5 separate regions of the Homo sapiens genome follow, and regions 1, 3, 4 and 5 are each linked to region 2. Evidence: promoter capture Hi-C in 16 types of primary human blood cells and fetal thymus (Javierre and others, 2016). All regions are on one chromosome and are shown on one strand. The core of a region is centred on a gene start or on the middle of the fragment in contact, and the rest is flanking DNA. Distances in the headings are between cores, read along the strand shown. Region 1 has its middle 32 kb from the start of KCNJ1. Region 2 holds the start of FLI1 (Fli-1 proto-oncogene, ETS transcription factor). Region 3 overlaps ETS1 (ETS proto-oncogene 1, transcription factor). Region 4 overlaps KCNJ1 (potassium inwardly rectifying channel subfamily J member 1). Region 5 overlaps ETS1 (ETS proto-oncogene 1, transcription factor).

Region 1 (2,700 bases), core at 66-2,565, 140 kb before region 2:
CCAGAAGTTTGAGAACAATGACTGGAATTTCCTCTTTCTGTCCGGCAAGGGCTGTTTGTCATTGGGGAGATAAAAGTCCAGGGGCAGGGAATAAAGGTTATCGGGAACTGCGCAAGGCAGAGCCGTGGGGGGTGGGAGGAGGGGTTATGGAGGAAATCTATTTCAATGCCTGTCATTAAGTTTCCATTAAAAGAACATTCAGTTAGGAATTCAAAAATAATTTAATCTCCCCAGCCAGATGCACCCAGCTGGACTCCTTGGAGCTGAGCCCCTTGGAGAGGGAGATTTGCACCACCGGTTGCAGGGGCCAGGAGCTGGGGTGCGTCTCTACCCAGCGCACTCTCGACTGCTTGGGTGTTCTGGAAGACATCGGTATCCTTCAGACAAGTGGGAAACCCCAAGGCTTGTGCAGTGGCAGAAGAAAGTTATTTACTAGGAGTTATTTACTACGTTGTTACCATGTCCGAGGTTCTGTTTACAGCATTTTATATGCAGTCCCTCATGTAATTTTCCCAACAATCCTATGAGGTCAAGACTATGATTATACCTTTATTCCACTTGAGGCAGCTAAGGTAAGGAAGGTGTCCAGAGACATTACCTGGAAAATGGCAGGGCTGGCATGCAAACCCCGGGCAGTCCGCTTTGAAAGCCCATGAGTTTAAAATCCCTCGTCGACATCCTAGGAGGGACCATCCTCTGAGCAGATTCCCCAGGGCCATCGCACACTTCCCTGAAACCCACGGATGACTGGCGCATGCTCTTGGGATGCGTCTTATACTTTGGGAGAAACCACTCATTGCTCAGCACAAGACAGAGCCCTGGCGAGTGCTGAACGAACATCTCTGGAATTGCAGGTTCTAGGAAAAGGCAGTCTTTTCCCATGAGCTCTAGGTCATCCACCAGGTCAGTATACGGAAGTATCATGGGTGTCCTGAAGATTTGATTAGCCCATTGGTGCAAAGTATCTTCCTAATACTAATACACATACTTCTCTCTCTAAATATACACAAACACTAAATATATATACTAATTATATATATATAATTAAAAACTATGTGTGTGCATATGTATGTATACACATACACACACACATATTTATATTTCAGTCTTTGATGTAGAGGCAGATATTATTTCCATTTTGACATGGGAAGTGGAGCCTCCATTCTCCCTGGAGAACAGCCCCTGTGTTCTCTACTCACCTCTGTATTCCTAGCACCAGCAGAGTTCCTCACACAATCCATACATGGTTATAATGAATAAAATAAACCAATGAATGATTTGCTCAAGGTCTACATGGCTAGTAGTGGATTCAAACCCACATCTGTCCAATGAGCTTTTGACTGACCTATGTCATTGACCAGTCATTAGTCAAGGGGCCTGGAAAAATGACTTAACTTCATTAAGCCCCAGTTTCTTTATTTGTAGAATGGAGTTTTGTAATAGAGTTAAGGAGGGGATTCAATGAAATAATGGATGTGAAAAATCCATCTGTTGAAAGTAAATGGCTGTGCATATGGCAACATGAGGTGGGAGCAATGGGTTTGAAGGTGAGGAATGAAGGGGAGGACACTGGTCCCAGAGCAAACCCTGCGCCTGGTGCTTCAAGGGCAAAGAAAGCAGAGCCCAGGGCAGGGCCTGATGGAGACCAGTGGAGGCCTGGGGGACAAGAACAGTGCCTGCAGGGGTCTGTCCCAGCTGGGATAGGCTATGAGTTGGGGGGATTTGAGTAGAATCCTGGTGCTTTGGGTTTGTCTTCAATTCAAGAGATGCTTATTTTGGGTTTACTGTGAGCCAGGCACTGGGGAGGCAAAAAAGAGGAAGCAAGGGTCCTGCCTACTGCAGAAAAGATCCCAGAGCTCCAGCCAGTTCAGAGGACGAGAGTTAAACTGGAAAACTGCTGATGTCGGGGAGAATCTTTTTATTGTCTTATGCCATGTGCTTATAATAGTTTCAGCAAAAACAATATTGACTCCACTGCTAACAATAAGACTATTGATTACAGTCTTAAAAGTATTTGGGATTAAACATTTTTAAATCATCCATCCTATAGATATTCTTTATATAACAATGTACAATCAACACAGTGATAAAGTCACTTGAAGTAGTTCTTTTCTCCGTGTGATTAGGTACCAACTGGACATAGGTTCATTTGTTTCCATTTATTTGCAATCGTTAAAGTCTGTTTATTGTTTTCCTTTTTTGATTTCGCCATTTCTTTTATGAATTATGCAAGGAATTTATATAATTTCAAAACCACAGAACAGGGTTTAGAAAACATGCTTCCATTCCTGTGCCCTCCACTCTATTTCTTCCCGTTCTATAAAGGGTAAGCATCTTTATTATGTTGTATCCTGTGGCGGTTTCTTTGTGAAAGATGTAAGCAATGCATATGTGACATGTTAGTATTTACATGCTGCTCCATTCTTACACAAAAGGTAACACTCTAGAAACACCATTCTGCAGGGTTTTCTTCACCTAATAGAATGTTCTGCAGATCACTGTGTAGGGATAAGTGCTGATAATACCAACATCTATGCGACACCCTCCCTCACCTTCGTGGGTGCTCTTGCAGTAGTTGCTGGGATCTTGCTCCAGAGGCCCCTGCTGTGCAGTTTTGAGCCTGAGAGATGGTGGCCTTTTCTGTTTTGCCTTCCTGAAAGCTTCCCTCTCTTTGCAGGGTGACTCTAGGGCTGATTCTGC
Region 2 (2,721 bases), core at 179-2,678:
TTCTCTTGCTGAGCCCTGAGCAGGGAGTCGATTCTTTCGGGTTCTGGGGAATGGCGGGCTCTGCCAGTCCCCACCTCGCCAGCCTAATAGTTTTTCCAGACAGACTCCCGCTTGGTGTTGCGCGGCAGCCTCGAAGCTAACCCCTGGTCCCATTCATTCCCCTAGGTCCTCTAAGGCCCGTCACGTTAGGGGGTGTCCCTCCTCTCTGCTCCTGGCCCTACTTGGCGAACCCTTTCAGAGACAGCAGTCAACTTTTCTGAAGTGAGACGCGAACCCAAACCCTCACCTTTCCGCCTGGGTTGCACTTTGCAACCTAGACCCAGGCTTGGCGGCGGCGGCTGGGGTGGGAATGGCCGGGCGGGCGCGGGGCGCGGGCTCACAGCCGGCCCCTGCAACGGAGGCGGCTCCGAAGGACGCAGGACCCTTTCGGAGGCGACAGCTCCAGGAGCCCTGGTCCTGGAGCCGGCGCACGCCTAGGCGCGAAGGGCGGGGGCTCGGGGCGCTAGGGATCTGTGCGGACGGGGGCTGGGGAAGGTTCCCCGCCGGAGAGGCGGCGAGGCCGGCCCAGGAGTCCCGCGGAGCCGGCGGCTCTCCAGCGCCTAGAGCCGGGCGACTGAGTGCCGAGAGGAAGGGAAAGCGCTGACATGTAAACAGGGGCTTCCATCTGGAGGAGCCCGCTCAGATAGATCCCCCGACACACTCACTTGCACCCCTACCCTCGTGCAACGAGGCCACTTACCCACCCCAGGGCCCACCAGGCAGGGACCCGAGCCCGGGCGACTGCAGCCCCCGCCCCCGCCGTGTTCCGCCTCTGCGGAGAGGAAGCCCAGTGCCTAGCGCTGGGGCCACGGGAGCCCCGGGTGTCGGTGGGAGTGGTGGACCCCGAGGTCTCTCGCCCTTGACTCCGTTCCGTACCCTGGGGTCCCCCGGTTTCCCGCCGTCCCCTCCTGCAGCCCCGGCGGGCAGCGAGGTGGGAGGGGGGCCGGGGCTCCACTTTGGGGGCTGGGATTTCGGGGGAGGGTCGCCCTCAATGCGGGCGCCTGGCCGGCTGGCCCGCGAGTAGGACTCGCCACCCGAGCGCCGGAGGAGCCGGCGCGAAGCCGGGGCGCGGAGGGAAGGGAGAGAGGCCACGTCTTCCGGGACGCGGGCCCCGCACCTACCCGCCCGCCGCTTCGCCTCCCCGGCCGGTCCCCGCCGCCCGCGTCCGTTGCCCCGCCGCTTACCTTAATAGTCCCGTCCATTTGGCCAAGTCTGCAGCCGAGCCCCCCAATATTCCACACATTGACCCGGTTACAGCCTGACCTCGCAGCCCCTTCGGATTAGCCCGGCGCGGCCTCCCTGGCGCCCTGGGCCCTCCCTGCGTGCCCCCTGCGAGCGCCCTGCCCTCACTCCCCTGTGCACGTTTGTTGTTGTAGCGGAGCGAAAGAGACAGTTAACCGGATGAAACTTTTTTTTCAGCTAATTTTGGGAAGTGACTTCACTTTGCGAATCGGGGAGGAAGTCCTATCTCTCTCTCTCTCTCTCTCTCTCTCTCTCTCTCTCTCTCTCTCTCTCTCTCGCCTCGAGCTCTCCTCTCTCTTCTCTCCCCTCTGCTCTCCCTCGTCTTCCCTCCCCCCCCACACCCCCTCTTCCTCCCCTGCTGGTCCTGCTTTTCGCATCACACACTATATAAATATACGCGGAGATGCCCAGACACATTCATGCGCTGCGCACACAGGATACTTGCTCCTGGGAGATAAGAGCTAGCCGGGAACAATGACGGGGTCCACGCCCAGCGTCCGCGCCCTGATTCCCGAAGTCTGAACCTCCCCCCATCACCTTCCCCCAAAATCCAAAGCCAAAGACCTTTGGCTTCTTTGCTTTTCCTGAGGCGGTTGGCCGAAGGTGGCCCTCCTGACTCATTCACTTTCCGTTTCTTCCCACAGATACGTTCATTAATGCTTTTTCCAGCCGGAGACAAACTTTTTGGGGGTGGGGTAGGGGGGGTATGGAGGGAGAGTTGGCTAGGGCTGCGGGTAACCCAGCGCCTACTGCCGGGGAAGACTCGGACGAAAACCGAGGCAAACCAACCATTAAAAAGTGCATCCAATAAGAATTTTTCCACTCAGGCCCTCCGCTGCCGAGACGCGGCAGACTCCCAGAGCGGCTCACCCACTCATCGAAGCGGATTCTGGGCGGTTTCGGGCTGACCCGCGCTGTCAGGGCGCGGACTCCATTCCGGGCGCATTGTTAGGAGAAGGGGCCCCTCGGGGCGGCGCGCCTCGACCCTGGGCTCCCGGTGCCCGCAGAGGGCGGAGATCCGCGGCGCCCTAGGCCACCTATCCGCATCTTCTCGAGCCAAACCCCCAGCGCTTACCCGGACCCGACGGCCCAAGCACTGACTCCCAGGCAAGAGTCGCCCTTCCTGGTCCCCAGGGAACTGACACTACCGCGGGACGTTCCCTCTAGGACAGTCAGCAGGTCCCAGGAGCGCAGCACGCAACAGCGCAGAGCAGACCCAGACTTTTCCCGGGGTGAGACCCGGAGGCCCGCGCTCTGGACCGTCCTCCCTACCCAGCCTGGAGGCCGGCGTTCCCCGGCCCAACCCGGAGACCTCCCCGCCTCCCTCCTGGGCCGCCGCGCGCCCCAGTTGGAGCAGCCTCGAGGGGCTGGGCCCTTTCGGCCGGACTCCCTTCTCCCGGACATCCAAAACAGGTTACCTTGTCCACGCTCTCCGGACCA
Region 3 (2,719 bases), core at 181-2,680, 190 kb after region 2:
CAAAGTGAAGTTAATATGGATAAATGTGAAGCCCTGTTGTGAAGTTAATAAAATTCAGTCAATAGGTACAGAACTGGTTCAGTATCACTTTCTATGGAGAGGTCCTGGCAATGTCCTTTGAGTGGCTTTTGTAGTTAGGCTGTTAGATCAGTGTTGTCTTAGTCTGCACCAGTCAAAGCTTATGGAGTAAGATGATCATCTCATTGTTCCCATTTAACTTCTGAGAAGCACGATGTTCACCTATGAATGCTTGTGATGCTCTTCAGGAACATAGGCTTAGAGGAATGCTTCTAGGTGGAGCGAGGGGAGTGGCCAAAAACCATGCCAACATGAATGGTTGAAGGAACCACGGAGTTTGGAAACCTGGACGGAAGTGATGATAGGAGGAAGAAAGCAGGGGAAAAGCTGCCAGATAAGGACAAATTTGCTTTGTGCTGCTGATCTCTCAACAAGCAAAGCAAGGGCCTATTGATAGAATTCATAAGAAGGCAGATTTAAACTCGTTGTGTCTAATCATTTTTAAATAATCATTTTGGCTTATAAGTGAAATTGTGTAGCTCAAAAAGGATGGGGCAACCAAATGTCTTAAGTGAGAAGACTTCTGGGGAAGTATGGTGGTCGTTCTTCAGGTCCTGCCCTGCCCCTCATGACCACTCATCATCAAGTACTCCTCTGTGGATCTGGAAGCTGGAGCAGGGTGTGCACGCATACTGTGTTGCTTCAGTGCCTGTGGCTGCCAATATTGAGAATCCTTGTCTGATGTACTGGGAAAATGGACTTGCGTATTCTTATTTTTCATTGTGGTTTCCCTGGGTTGAAAACAGACAGTTGCACTGTGTGAATGTGTATGAGTATGCTTTTTCCTTCTCAGTCCAGATTTATTTATTAAAAGAAAAACACATCTGCATAAAAAAGCCTTAGAACGCAGGAAGAATGTCCACTTTGTTTTTCTTTCTGTAGCACCGAGACATGTGGGGTTTCAGCTTCCTCTAAGAAGTTTTTGAAGACTGGCTTTCATCTCAAACAAGACTTTTTCCCATTGGAAAAACGGTCCTTTTTTGGTTTAAAAATGTATTTATATAATGTATAAATAAATAAGAAAGTTGAGAGAGAATTTCCTTTCAAAATTGATGAAAAAATGTTGCTTTCTGAACATCATTAATTGGGAGTCGGTTGTTGCCTCTTCCCAGGCCATTGCCACTCTGCATTCTGTTTCTTTGTTCTGGTTTACAATTTTCCAATATTCCCTTTCTCTGCTTCCTGCTTTCTTCCCTCTCTCCTCCCTTCTTGGCCAGCTCTCCTCCTCTGTCTGATCCCAGCTCCAGCCTTCTCCCTTGGCGGCTACCCCCATGGCCACTGCACCACCTTCCTAGCCCCCGTTCCTCCTTCCTTTCTCTAAGCCTTTCTTCCTTCTGCCCTTCCCGGGCTAACTTTGAACAACTGAAGCCCTCACTGGAAGAGGCCTGTCTCTGTGTTTGTTTCCTGCGTGGGAGGGAGAGGCAGGCCTTGAGAAAACAGTTCAAAAGTGCAGAAAAACTTTACCTCTTCCAGCCTAAATAAACGGGCTCTACTCCATTTGTTTGCCCAGATTTTTCATTTGCCCATGGAGAAAACTCCTCATCGTACACCTTGCCCAGCCTGGCCTTCTTGGTGATTCTCAGCACCACTCTCCCGATGCCTGTTTTACCCCCCGACCAAGTGCCAAGTGGGCCCCGAGCCGAGGTTTGACCAGGCCAGTTCTGGGTAGGACGTGCAATGGAGCCTGCTGTCGGTAGAGAGTCTCGGGGATTGAGGTTCTTCCCTGCTACAGAAAGAGCTTTTTCTAGAATGAAAATGTTGGAGAAAATGAAAAAAGAAATGTTATCATGCCCCATCATTTTTGCCTCATTTGCTTTTAATTCTGTGAATAGGTGCAGGGAGAAAACACGTGGCTTGCGTGTCTGAAGATGTGGGATTGAATCCTTGTTATATCACTTTACTGGTTTGATAATCTTAGTTAAGTCACTTAAGAAACATTTGTGAGCCTCAGTTTCCTCACCTACATGATAAAGATAATAACTACAAGTGCTTGTTTTGAAAAATCATATGAGAATATTCAAGAAAATGCTTTCTAAAAGATACAGTTCTAGTCAAATAGCAGGAATGATAATTATAGGTGGGAGTTAAGTGAAATTAAAATAAATTGGTTAGCCCAATTCATCAGCATCTGCAAGATCTCAGAGGATGAGGCCTCAAAGGCTATTATGTAAACCAGAATTAGTGGAAGCTGGGATTATAGCAAGATGTAGTTGTCAGATATTCTCCATTGTCTTCCTGGATGGGGTTATCCTATGTCATGTTGGTACCAAAAGCCGTATGATCCTGTCATGAGAATTTTAGTGAAGGCAGGGCAGGAGTTTTCCTCATTCAGAAGTGTAAGATGTGGGAAGAACCAATAGGATGCAATGTGGTTCTCTGCAAAGCCATGGAGACGAAAGAGCCCAACTCATTCTTTCCTCCTGAGTAATGTAGAGACCATGGCTCTGTGTTTTTCAGATAAAGAAGTCACACTGTTCTGGGACATTTAGGAACTATAAAGTATGTCATGTGGTGGGAGTCAGGTGTAATTATCTATGCAGGAAATGCTTTGAAACATGTGAAGTACTTTGTAAATGGCTTGAAATGATCATTTAAGAAGCTTAAATGATTCTTTAATGTACCCTATGGAGGTGGTCCTTGC
Region 4 (2,700 bases), core at 196-2,695, 160 kb before region 2:
AGAAAGGTCTCAGCAAGGCAGCAGCATGATCCGATTTTCAGGACTCCTTCCTCACTCTGACGGTGTGGACTCTATTATGAGGAGAAAGAGGCGGTGGACAGATCAAGGAGCAGGCGAGTTTTGTAGCCCAACCAAGGAATTATGGTGGCCTGGCAAGCAGAGGAGATGAAGAGAAGAGGACAGACAGGTCCTGACTATATTGTGTAGAAAGAGCAGACAAGATTTGCTGATGGATTGCGTGTGAGGTGAGAGGAAGAAAAGAATTAAGGGTGAATCAAGGTTTTGCTTGACTCGGGGGTGGGTGTGCCATTGACAGGGCTGAGGATGATCTGAATTGAACAAAACCAACATGAAATCAGTTGTATTCAGTGCTAAGAAGGAAAAGAAGATGGTGCTAGGACATTTTTTTAGAGTAGGAATTTCAGTCCAAGATGCCTATGCCCAGATGTGCTGTCCCAGCGTACATCACATGTGGAGCTGCCCCTCCCCTGCTCCCTCTTCTGCGGTCCTCTCTCTGCCCTGCACTCTGAGGGTGCACATGCACCTCTCACCCCAGCCTGGTGGCCATGGTACCTGCAACCCTGGCCAAGAGCTTCCAGAGAAAGGATCACGCCAGGCATCCATCACCAAGCCCTGTGCCCTGGTTGCCTCCGGGTCTGGAAGGCTGGTCGTGCTAACCTCAGAGGAAATTCAGTTGGTCTGGCACAATTGCATCCTTCTCGTCTAACCTAATCTCATCATTCCATGGGCAATCTTTTTCTCTCTGATCCACAGCCTTTCACCACTTCATTAATTTGTCCCTAGCAGCCGGATAAACAGTCTTCTCCCTCTGGGCCTCATGTACACAAAGATGCTTCTGACAGGCCCCTTGAAAGCAGCTCAGAGCCTGCTGTCTTTTCCCGCCCGGAAGTTCTGGTGGGAGAACCTTCTTTAAGAGGCTCCAGGAGGGGATGAGGGGAGGGAGAAAGAAGACTTCCCAAGACCTGGCAAGAGCCCCGAGCAGGACTATGCATCCTTCCTGCATTTCCTCTGCAGCTCACACAGGCACAGTGGTACCGTCCTTGGGTCTGGCAGGTGAGAGCTGCCTGCCCAAATCCAGACCTGGGAGTTAAAACTGATTTCCCCAAGTGCCAACTCAGCCTTTGGCTGTCCCAGTCCTGATCTCTTCATCAGAGCCCCTCAGCCCTGCTAAACAAGGAAGGAGCCTGGCATTTATTGTGGCTTTCCCCATACCAGATCCTCTACTGGGCCTTCCCACACTTAATCCTATCTCAGCATTGGGAAACAGATTTCCTTATTTCCATGTTCATGGAGGAGAACGTTCAGGTTTAGAGAAGCCAAATAACTCACTCTGATAACAAGTGGAAGAGGTGACGTTTAAGCCCAGCTCTACACCGCCTTATAGCCTATCCCCTCACTATTTTCAAGGCACCTGTGGAGCCCCATCTTTGCTTTGCCAACCTCATTTGCTGCCTCTTTGCAATAATGTCTTCAATCTTAATGCTGATCACAGCTTGGACCTCACACCCTCTGGGTGCCAGGGAGCCAGCATTTTGGTTAGTACTAAGCCCAGTTGTCAATCTCATCACAATTCCTAGAGGGCTTCCTTCTATCCTCTTTTCTCCATCTGCTCCAGTGAAGCTCAGGGGACCTTGGCAAGGTGGGAAAGGTCAGGACTCAAATGATGTTGGGGAAAAAGAATAAACCCATCACTGAAAATGGGTACAATTATTGGAAATGTGGGAGGGTAAGAAAAGTGAATCAGGAAGACAGTATGTCCAAAACAACAAAAAAGAAAAGAAAAGGAAAGAAAAACCGTAAACAGCTCACAATGAGCTCCAGGGTTTTTACTGCTCCTTACGTTTCTTAGCAACTATTTTTTGTTTGTTTTCCAGGCTTAATCGATTACATTGAGAAATTAGCTCTGTAAAATCCCCAGGTGAGCTGCTGGGTCATGCACCAGTAAGCTGCAGAGCTGGAATTCAAGCCTGACTCCAGATACGTGTTTCAAGGCCAGAGACTCAGTGGGGAGCCTGCACGTGCGCTCCAGCTAGACCACCTTGTTTCTTTTCATAGGAGTTAGTACTCATAGCACACCAGGGGCTTCAGTTTCTTTCCCCAAACCCATCGTGCATCTATGATACTTAAGAAGATCTAGGTTTGGCCCTGCAGGTGTGTCATCAAACAGATCATTACGATTTGTGCTAATCCAGATTAGGATGTTGAGAGGTGGTGGTTGGGGACATTCTTTGTAGCTCTTGATAGTGGCCCTTATTCAGGAAGTACGCAAGGAACATCCAGCCCTGCCTTTGAGAAAGGGCCCAGCCTCTGGACATGCACAGTGGGAGGTTTCTGTCATTCTCCCGTGAGTCCTTGAATGTAGACTCAACACAACTCTGTGCCCTGTTGTCACCCAAGAAAGCAGCAAGGTCCCCATCCCAGTCACGTTCCATCCCTCTCTCTCCTTGGTGTATGTGGTGTGGGGTGGGGAGCAGAGGTAAGTAGTGGCACGGGGGAAATGTGGGGCAAGGCGGGGTTTTGAATGGGCCCGTGGGCCTCTGGCTTGTCTGCGAGGTCATGCTGAGTCTCTGGAGGGGCTGGCTCAAATGGGAATTGGAACATCCGCGCTGCTGACTCCAGGAATACAACAAGGGCTATGGGCAAGGAATAAAATGCTCAAAAACATTCAAACAAAAGATG
Region 5 (2,721 bases), core at 44-2,543, 230 kb after region 2:
AGCTTTCCTGTAGGAGCTGGTGCTTCCTGGGCTGTATCCAGAGACATGGACTGGGTCTTTCCCAGTCCCGCTCTGCCCAGTTTGTTTATGTTATAAGGGGCAGTGTAACAAGAAGCATGGACTTTTGAACCCCTATTTGTCTCTCCACCGACACCTATAAATTAAGAATCACTGGTGGCATTGTCATTTCAGATGAGAAAAGTATCCTCAAAGGAAATCGGTGTGATATAAACCTTTTAGCATAGAATAAATTGACTGTCAGAGTGTTGATGGCTAAGACAGAGAAGTGTGTGTGTGTGTGTGTGTGTGTGTGTGTGTGTGTGTGTGTCTAATTTAGAATATACTGAACCTATGCAGAATTTCTGACAGTCCTCATCTGACCCCTGAGGATTTTCTGGGTGGCACGTTAATTCCTCAAATAGTAATGATGCTTTTTTTTTTTTTTCCTTTGGGTGCTTTCCTGTAAGTGGACTGGAAGGGCAGGGTGGTGGCAGTGGAGAGAAATATTATGACTGAACAGATATTTAACATCTATTTCCTTGTAAGAGGGCCGGAGGATAGTGATCCTTCTTACTCACAAATCAGGGGCCACAGGCTCCCTACTACAGAGCAGTGCTTATGAGCCATAACTTGTGTTTGGAACTGGCAAAGACATTCATTCCTTCGTTAATATGTTTCTTACTTCTGAAGGCAAAAATAATGACTTAGTTTTTGCAGGTGTAAAAGATTATGCTGCCTTAGAATATCCCAGAGGATAGGCACAGTGTTCTCTTTCTAGAATTTGTTTAGCAATAAAAATGAACCGATCCTTAAGTTAATCAAAATAAAGCACTTGACACATTTTCTTCCATGCTTTTGTTTTATAGGGAGGCCTTTGTCTTTTCTATCTGTTCGAGCTCATAACACTTCCTCCGACATGTGCACTGTCTGTTGCCTTCATTTTCTCCTGGCTGGATGGGCTGAGAGAAGAGGGATGTGGGAGTGCCGTGTGTGGGGATTAGCTGCGTAGAGTGCTGAATATCTGGTGTAATGATTCACAATGGCTTGTGTTTCTAGGCAGTGGACCAATCCAGCTATGGCAGTTTCTTCTGGAATTACTCACTGATAAATCCTGTCAGTCTTTTATCAGCTGGACAGGAGATGGCTGGGAATTCAAACTTTCTGACCCAGATGAGGTAAGGAAGGAGGGGCTTGCGAGTACTGTGTTGAGGAAGGATGAGAGAAAACTCCTGGAAGGGGTGGCGTGGGCCTGAATGACGTGTTCCAGGATTGGGATTCCCAGCTCTGCCACTTGCCACCCGGAGCAAGCTAGGTAGCCTGTCTGAGCTCCAGGTTCATTATTTGGAAAATAGAGAAAAGATCTATGTTACCCCATTTGTCTTACAGGATTAGCTGATAGAAGGCATTAACGTGCCTGGCAGTAGGTCAGTTATCACCCATAGAGCTGCCTCCTGTGACTTAGCCTCTTCCTAGCCCGGTGGCTCTGTGAGTGTGAAAGGGGCCAGACAGTTCAAGAGGCCTTGGGAGATTGGCTCATTAGTTTCTTATTTCATTACACACATGTTTATGGAGTAGTGGTTCCGTGCCATGCCCAATTCTGAGGATAAAAAACAATGAACAGGAGAGACAACATCTTTGTTCTGGCAGACATGAGAAAATATTTGTGCCCTGGTATGGAAAAAAAACACTTCCTGTTGATGAAAGGCAGGTATGATTGCAGCTCAGCTCCTCCGCTTCACACTTCCCTGTTAGATTTCATGCTTGCAAAGCAAGGAGATTTTACTAATAATATGCGGAAAGAGGAGAATGTATAGTGTGGCTTTTTGTTTGTTTTTTAAAGTCACATATTTAATCCTAGTTCAGGGTCACTGTGTTTTCATCAACTTAAAGAATCATTGTGACTCCCATCCTTGCCCAACCCATGAAAAATGGAATTCAGGAGATAGGCCCGAAAAATATTTTCTATATCTACATGAATCTCAAATCATCTTACTTGAGCATCATGGGTCACCATGAATGGGTATAGCATAGGCATAGAAACATATATATTTGGCCTGTCTTGTAGATTTTTGCCTACTCCTCCTTTATTTTTCTTTTTAAATTTCAGGTGGCCAGGAGATGGGGAAAGAGGAAAAACAAACCTAAGATGAATTATGAGAAACTGAGCCGTGGCCTACGCTACTATTACGACAAAAACATCATCCACAAGACAGCGGGGAAACGCTACGTGTACCGCTTTGTGTGTGACCTGCAGAGCCTGCTGGGGTACACCCCTGAGGAGCTGCACGCCATGCTGGACGTCAAGCCAGATGCCGACGAGTGATGGCACTGAAGGGGCTGGGGAAACCCTGCTGAGACCTTCCAAGGACAGCCGTGTTGGTTGGACTCTGAATTTTGAATTGTTATTCTATTTTTTATTTTCCAGAACTCATTTTTTACCTTCAGGGGTGGGAGCTAAGTCAGTTGCAGCTGTAATCAATTGTGCGCAGTTGGGAAAGGAAAGCCAGGACTTGTGGGGTGGGTGGGACCAGAAATTCTTGAGCAAATTTTCAGGAGAGGGAGAAGGGCCTTCTCAGAAGCTTGAAGGCTCTGGCTTAACAGAGAAAGAGACTAATGTGTCCAATCATTTTTAAAAATCATCCATGAAAAAGTGTCTTGAGTTGTGGACCCATTAGCAAGTGACATTGTCACATCAGAACTCATGAAACTGATGTAAGGCAA

The links. The method cuts DNA at HindIII sites, captures the fragments that hold promoters and counts their contacts. A CHiCAGO score of 5 or more calls a contact.
Region 1: a contact is called between a fragment that was not itself captured here and the fragment with the promoter of FLI1 in region 2, in 1 of 17 cell types (megakaryocytes). The highest score is 6.6, in megakaryocytes.
Region 3: a contact is called between a fragment that was not itself captured here and the fragment with the promoter of FLI1 in region 2, in 5 of 17 cell types (activated CD4 T cells, total CD4 T cells, total B cells and 2 more). The highest score is 7.9, in activated CD4 T cells.
Region 4: a fragment that was not itself captured here is called in contact with the fragment with the promoter of FLI1 in region 2 in 1 of 17 cell types (megakaryocytes); the score reaches 7.4 in megakaryocytes.
Region 5: a fragment that was not itself captured here is called in contact with the fragment with the promoter of FLI1 in region 2 in 5 of 17 cell types (total B cells, activated CD4 T cells, naive B cells and 2 more); the score reaches 7.8 in total B cells.

What each region holds. Positions count from the first base shown.
Region 1 is chr11:128,833,520-128,836,219 of GRCh38, reverse strand. No RefSeq gene overlaps it. Among named protein-coding and RNA genes, the nearest start is that of KCNJ1, 32 kb to the left of the region's middle. The HindIII fragment of the contact is 2,695 bases long and covers 1-2,662 here.
Region 2 is chr11:128,692,779-128,695,499 of GRCh38, reverse strand. FLI1 (Fli-1 proto-oncogene, ETS transcription factor) reads right to left here and starts at 1,428. Exons shown (of 9, transcript NM_002017.5): 1 at 1,224-1,428. The coding sequence starts at 1,241. It overlaps SENCR (smooth muscle and endothelial cell enriched migration/differentiation-associated lncRNA), which reads left to right. Exons shown (of 3, transcript NR_038908.1): 2 at 2,109-2,721. RefSeq lists silencers at 397-526, 577-796, 837-886, 1,107-1,476, 2,160-2,299 and 1 more and a cis regulatory region at 1,208-1,940. The HindIII fragment of the contact is 9,137 bases long and covers 1-2,721 here.
Region 3 is chr11:128,498,767-128,501,485 of GRCh38, reverse strand. All of the region lies in intron 3 of ETS1 (ETS proto-oncogene 1, transcription factor), which reads left to right. Among named protein-coding and RNA genes, the nearest start is that of MIR6090, 22 kb to the left of the region's middle. The HindIII fragment of the contact is 2,499 bases long and covers 181-2,679 here.
Region 4 is chr11:128,854,283-128,856,982 of GRCh38, reverse strand. The region is part of intron 1 of KCNJ1 (potassium inwardly rectifying channel subfamily J member 1); the gene reads left to right. Among named protein-coding and RNA genes, the nearest start is that of KCNJ1, 12 kb to the left of the region's middle. The HindIII fragment of the contact is 4,573 bases long and covers 1-2,700 here.
Region 5 is chr11:128,461,963-128,464,683 of GRCh38, reverse strand. It overlaps ETS1 (ETS proto-oncogene 1, transcription factor), which reads left to right. Exons shown (of 10, transcript NM_001143820.2): 9 at 1,057-1,175; 10 at 2,108-2,721. The coding sequence ends at 2,323. Among named protein-coding and RNA genes, the nearest start is that of MIR6090, 59 kb to the left of the region's middle. The HindIII fragment of the contact is 2,577 bases long and covers 5-2,581 here.